Regions from separate parts of the Homo sapiens genome. Here region 1 is linked to region 2. Evidence: promoter capture Hi-C in 16 types of primary human blood cells and fetal thymus (Javierre and others, 2016). All regions are on one chromosome and are shown on one strand. The core of a region is centred on a gene start or on the middle of the fragment in contact, and the rest is flanking DNA. Distances in the headings are between cores, read along the strand shown. Region 1 overlaps ZNF592 (zinc finger protein 592). Region 2 holds the start of ZSCAN2 (zinc finger and SCAN domain containing 2).

Region 1 (3,390 bases), core at 327-2,826, 170 kb before region 2:
TTTCAGTAAAGTGTTCTCTTTCCTGCTATTTTATAAGCCCCTCAGTAGACATTCACTAAATTATTGTTATTTCTAGATTTGGATCTCTACTTGGATATCTAATAGGCACCTCAGATCTACTATGTCTAAAATCTAGCTCTTGATTTCCTCCTACAGCCTTCCGCATTTCAGTAAATGACAATGCCATTCTTCCAGCTGCTTAGGCCTAAACCTCTCTTTCTTTCACACCCTTCATCCAATCCACAAGCACATCCTGTCAACTCAACCTTCAAAATATATTCAAGTCCAGCCATTTCTCACCACCTCTACCATCATCTCTCTCCTGTGTTCCCACAAAAGCCTGCCAACTGATCTTCTTGCTTCCACCCTTGCCTCTACTAGTCATTCCCAACACAGCAGCCAGAGTATTGCTTTTGAAACATACGTTGCCACTGGGCACAGTGGCCCATGCCTGTAGTACCAGCTACTCAGGAGGCTGAGGTAGGAGGATCACTTGAGCCCAGGAATTTGAGGCTGCAGTGAGCCAGGAATGCACCTGAGGATAGCCACTGCACTCCAGCCTAGGCAACACAGTGAGACCCCATCTCAAAAAATAATAAGATAATTTAAAAATCTTAAAGCACACATCACATCATGTCCCTACTCTCTTCAAAACCCTTCAACACCATCCCATCTCCCTCAGAGTGAAATCCCATCTTTCCCACAGCCTCCACAGCCGGGATGATCTCACTGCCCCCATCTCCTATGCCTCTCTCTCACCCAGTCTGTCCAGGCACACAAAGGCCTCCTTACGTTCCTCAGGCATGCTGGTCATGCTCCATTCTGAGCCTCTGCAGTCACCACTCCCTCTGCTTGAAACATTCTCCCACCAGATCTCGGTGGGCTCACTTCCTCACTTCTTCAGGCCTTTAATCCAATGTCACTTTGTCAGGAGCCTTCCATGACCGTTCTACATGAGACACCAATCCCCAACCCAACCATCAATCTTTATCCCTTTACACTGCTTTATTTTCTTCCCAGCACTTATCACCACCTAGCATATATTATGTAATTGTTCATTACCTTCTTGTCTTTCTGTAAATTCCAGTGTGTTTACAGGAAGGTAATCCACCATTAGAAAGAAGGAACAGGCCAGGCACAGTGGCTCATGCCTATAATTCCAGCACTTTGGGAGGCAGAGGTGGGCTGATCACCTGAGGTCAGGAGTTCAAGACCAGCCTCACCAACATGGTGAAACCCTGTCTCTACTAAAAATACAAAAATTAGCCAGGCATGGTGGTGGACACCTGTAATCCCAGCTACTCAGGAGGCTGAGGCAGGAGAATTGCTTGAACTCAGGAAGTGGAGGTTGCAGTGAGCCACGATCGTGCTATTGCACTCCAGTCTGGGCAACAGATGGACACCATGTCTCAAAAAAAAATAAAAGAAAGGAGGAAGAACAATTTGACAAGCTCATTTGTCCAGAATTAAGATTGTTCAAGATAATCACAGATTCCCAAGTGGGCTTATTATGAATCAAACATTTTGCAAATATGCAAATTTTTGTTTCACTTTTTAAAATTTTAGAGAGACCTTCAGTGGTTATGGGACCTCGCCAGTGGGAAGGGGTCTACCTAAAGTACCCTTGTCTATGAATCCTGGATCCCTGTAATGGCTGATTAAATTAAATATTTTATCAGTGGGGGGTGCCTATTGGCCGATGTCCCATAAGGTCATTTGTTTTGAGGATGGGATCAGTGTGACACCAGAGGAAAGAAAAGGCTAGCTCTGAGAACCATAGGGAAGAGGTAGGTACAGGGTGGGAATGAGTCTTAAGAAAAAAAGACACAAAAGGCTGGGCACGGTGGCTCATGCCTGTAATCCCAGCACTTTGGGAAGCTGAGACAGGTGGATGACTTGAGGTCAGGAGTTCAAGACCAGCCTGGTCCACATGATGAAACCTTGTCTCTACTAAAAATACAAAAATTAGCCAGGTGTGGTGGTGCACACCTGTAATCCTAGCTACTTGGGAGGCTAAGGCAGGAGAATCGCTTGAACCCAGGAGGCAGAGGTTGTAGTGAGCTGGGATCGCGCCACTGCACTCCAGTCTCCAGCCTGGGCGACAGAGCACAACTGTCTCAAAAAAAAAAAAAAAAAAAAGAAAGAAAGAAAGAAAGAAAAGGAAAGAAGATAAGAAGATACTGGCTAGGCACTATGGCTCGTGGCTGTAATCCCAAGCGTGAGGCCAAGGCAGGTAGATCATTTGAGGCCAGGAGTTCAATACCAGCTGGGCAACATGGCAAAACCCCATCTCTACAAAAAAAAAAAATTAAAATTAAAATTAAAATTAGCTGGGCGTGGTGGCACATGTCTGTAGTCCCAGCTACTCAAAAGGCTGAGGTGGGAGGATTGCTTGAGCCTGGGAGGTTGAGGCTGCAGTGAGCTGTGATTGCACCATTGCACTCCAGGGTAGGTGACACAGCAAAACCCTGTCTCAAAAAAAAGAAAAGAAAAGAAAAGAAACAAATAAAAAAAAAGAAAATACAAGTCCGTGAACAAACTGAAATACCATTGAATTGTGCACTTTAAATGGGTAAATTGTATGGCATGTGAATTATATCTCAATAAAGCTGCTATATTTTTTAAAAGATAGAAAAAGACAGAACTGGAGGGAGCTGGGATTATACAAGACAATAAAACTGACTGGGACAAGCAGAAACTAGGCATAGGCAGCAAGCACAGTTTACACAGAGCTGACAATTTAGATACAAACTGATACTTTGTAACCCGTACCCCCTTTACCTTTCCTTCTTTGCAAACAGATCTCAGCAATAACCTAGCACCACACTTTGTTAGAAGGAAACAGGACCCAGAGATTTGAGAAAAAGGGGGACAGGACTCCTCTTGTTCACACACCATCCTGGTGTGTTCCTCCCAGTAAACTTTGTAAATGCATCATCTCTTGGTAGTGGGGACCCCTAAATTTAAGCAAGAAGCCAGCAGCCTCAGACCTGCTGGGAACCAAGCCTCAACTTCCGACGCAAAGGACCCTAGAAAACAGTGTTGGCCGGGTACGGTGGCTCACATCTGTAATTCCAGCACTTTCGGAGGCCGAGGCGGGCGGATCGCCTGAGCTCAGGAGTTCGAGACCACCCAGGCAACATGGTGAAACTAAAAATACAAAAAATCTCTACAAAAATACAAAAAAATTACTAAAAATACAAAAAAATTAACCGGGTGTGGTGGTGTACGCCTCTAGTCCCAGCTACTTGGGAGGCTGAGGCAGAAGAATCACTTGAGCCCCAGAGGCGAAGGCTGTAGTGAGCCGAGATCACGCCACTGCATTCCAGCTTGGGCTACGGAATGAGACTCCATCTCGGAAAAACAAAAAGAAAACAGAAAGTGGCCATT
Region 2 (3,218 bases), core at 594-3,093:
TTTGGGAGGCCTCGGCAGGCGGATCACTTGAGGTCAGGAGTTCGAGACCAGCCTGGCCAATATAGTGAAACCCCGTCTCTACCAAAAATACAAAAATTAGCCAGGCATGGTGACGGGCGCCTGTAATCCCAGCTACTCAGGAGGCTGAGGCAGGAGAATTGCCCGAACCTGGGAGGAGGAGGTTGCAGTGAGCCGAGATCGTGCCACTGCACTCCAGTCTGGGCGAAAGAGCCAGACTCTGTCTCAAAAAAAAAAAAAAAAAAAGAAAAGAAAAGGAAAAAAAAGAAAAGAAACTGTGCTATAATAATGGCTACCTTTAGGTGGTAATGACAGGAAAGGGGCTCAAAGGAGCCTTCTGGGATGATGGAAATTTTCAATATCTTCATTTGGCAATGGCGGCACAAGAGCAAACATATGAAATTTAAGATCTGCACATTACGCTGTATGTTTTTAATATTTTAAAAATTATATTGACAAAGATTAATCATTAATGATTTAAGATAATCCTTCTGATAGGAAAATAATGGATAAACACAAAATCAGCAGGGCAGAAAAACCATAGACACAGTAAGTCCTCAATTCCCTTTAAAAATGAACTCACAGCCGGGCGCGGTGGCTCAGACCTGTAATCCTAGCACTTTGGCAGGTTGAGGCGGGCGGATCACCTGAGGTCGGAAGATCGAGACCAGCCTGACCAACACGGAGAAACCTCGTCTCTACTAAAAACAAAATTAGCCAGGCGTGGTGGCGCATGCCCGTAATCCCAGCTACTCCGGAGGCTGAGGCAGGAGAATCGCTTGAACCCGGGAGGCAGAGGATGCGGTGAGCGGAGATCAGGCCATTGCACTCCAGCCTGGGCAACAAAAGCAAAACTCCGTCTCAAAAAAAAAAAAAAAAAAAAATGAACTCACAGGAAAAAAGAACGGGACGGCACCTACAAAATATTGAAAGCAGTGGAATTGCAAACGACTTAAAATATTATAAAAGCAATACAAAATTATTTTTAGCCCAAGCGCTGTAGCTCACGCCTGTAATTCCAGCACTTTGGGAGGCCGAGGAGGGAAGATGGCTTGAGGCCGGGAGTTCATGACCAACCTGGGCAACAGAGTGAGACCCAGTCTCTACAAAAATAAAAAAATTTTTTAAAAAATCATTACTACATCATAAAGACTCAACTAACAACCCTCCCTCAATGAAAAGGGGAGAAAAGCTGACAAAAGCTTAAAAAAAAAAGGACAAAAAATAAAAGCTAGTGGGAAAACCGAAGCTCTCAACGTGTATTTACTCAAATGACTAGAAGAAATACTGGCATATGGTGTAAGAGAACTCTTCCTACTTGGGAGCCTGGGAAAAGTGTGCCAGGTCAGCTAATTTGCGGTCTGACTTGGGGCACGACACGCCCCCTCTGAACCTCAGTTTCCCCATCTGTAAAACGTGTACGCTGCGCGGGATGTCGTCGAATGCCCCTTCCCGTCCAAAGCCTGCGCTTCTCGGTAGGAGAGGCAAGGAGCTCTCCGCCAGGGAGACGCGTCCGGGACGGTTCGCTGAGCGGAGCCGGCGCGTAAATCGGGGCTGCAGGGCCCGCAGGATACGGAGCGCGACCCCGACGCCCCTCCCCCAGCAGAGCTGCCGGCAGCTGGCTCCAGGCCCACTATTCCCTCACCTCGGGCTACTGCCCGGGGTCCGCGTGGCTCCAGGCCTGCCTCTCCGGCTCACCTCTCGGGAGACCAGGTCCTGCTCTAGCGGTTGCTTCGCGTGCGAAAGCGCCCCCGGGCTCGGCCCGGCCCCTCCAGATTCACCCCGGCTCAAGCCCGTGGGGCACCGAGAACAATGGACGGGAGAGGCCCGCCCACCGCCGCGCTCATTGGCTGCCGAGAACGGCCCTGGAAATTCTGCCTTTCTGTTGGTGGAGACGGCACCCAGCCGGGCGGCAGGAGGGAGGCTGGGCCCAAGGCATTGTGGGAGATGTAGTCCGCCCGGAGACGAACCTGACCGCGGTCCCCGGAGTAGGGTTTGGGGCTGACAGCCTGGGCAGTGCCTGCGGACCAGAGGCAGGAAAATCCGCAGACTGACCGTCAGAAACCCTGTGTTGGCTAGAGCTGTAACCCGAGACAAGCCGTTTCACTTATCTAAGGCCTCTGTATATTTGTCTATAAAAAGTGAAAGTTGGATGGCCGGACTTGAAGGACCTTTTCGGCTGCGAACCTTGTGGCAAGGAGTATTGTTAGGCACCCTCGACCGGCGAGAGCGGACCCTGGGCAGGAAGGGAATCCATGGGGGAACAAATCCTCATCGCCCAAGCCTGGCGCCTTTCCCCCAGTTTGCAGCTGTACACATGCACCCGGTCTTCGCACACCCCTTTGTTTTCGCACGTGGTATTCCTGTGTTTGGAGGAACGCCCTGCCCCGCCTCCTCTGCCGCGGAACTCCCATTCTTCCAGCTTCTCCTGGGTGGAGCCTGCCCTGTCATCACCACCTCCCCAGGCAGAGACACCGCCCCTAGTACACGTGTTGGACGTCCCCATTTTATTTTTTAAATATATATATGTATGTATTTGTATATATATATATATATTTATTTATACACACACACTCACAGACAGGATCTACATTTCATAGAGACAGGGTTTCCATATGTTGCCCAGGCTGACCTCGAACCCCTGGGCTCAAGCGATCCTTCCTCCTCAGCCTCCCAAAGTGCTGGAATTACAGGTGTGAGCCACCGCACCTGGCTGACGTCTCCATTTTAGTACTGATCACCGGGTTGCTTACTTGTCAATCTCAGTATGGGGGAAGGGAGGGTGCCCGGGTGTGGGAGGTTGGCCTCCATCTTTGTGTTTTACGGCTGGCGCTGTTGAAGAAACGGCTGCCCCAACCCTGCTTGAAAACAGGTGAGAAACTACCTGGAAACTCAAGCGGAAAATCTAAAAATGGAGAGAGACACCCTTAATGGTCTGTGATAGAATAGTTATGTATGTTTGCACTGAGCAATTACTGGAGGCACCTGCAATGAAATGACTGCTTTTTTTTTTCCTCCTCTGTCGCCCAGGCTGGAGTGCAGTGACACGATCTCGGATCAAGTGATTCTCCTGCCTCAGCCTCCCAAGTAGCTGGGATTACCGGCGTGCGCCACCACACCTGGCTAATTTTGCGTGTTTTTAGTAGAGACAGAGATTTCACCATGTTGATCAGGCTGGTCTTGAATTCCTGACCTCAGGT

Evidence for each region. Contacts are between HindIII fragments. The CHiCAGO score rates a contact against its expected background, and 5 or more counts as called.
Region 1: a fragment that was not itself captured here is called in contact with the fragment with the promoter of ZSCAN2 in region 2 in 2 of 17 cell types (activated CD4 T cells and naive CD8 T cells); the score reaches 6.8 in activated CD4 T cells.

The regions. Positions count from the first base shown.
Region 1 is chr15:84,766,980-84,770,369 of GRCh38, reverse strand. The region is part of intron 2 of ZNF592 (zinc finger protein 592); the gene reads right to left. Among named protein-coding and RNA genes, the nearest start is that of ZNF592, 20 kb to the right of the region's middle. RefSeq lists an enhancer at 3,281-3,390. The HindIII fragment of the contact is 3,788 bases long and covers 1-3,390 here.
Region 2 is chr15:84,599,634-84,602,851 of GRCh38, reverse strand. It overlaps ZSCAN2 (zinc finger and SCAN domain containing 2), which reads right to left and starts at 1,843. Exons shown (of 3, transcript NM_181877.4): 1 at 1,717-1,843. It overlaps LOC105370947 (a long non-coding RNA gene), which reads left to right. Exons shown (of 4, transcript NR_186225.1): 4 at 3,049-3,218. RefSeq lists a silencer at 1,476-1,625 and an enhancer at 1,946-1,995. The HindIII fragment of the contact is 3,007 bases long and covers 1,223-3,218 here.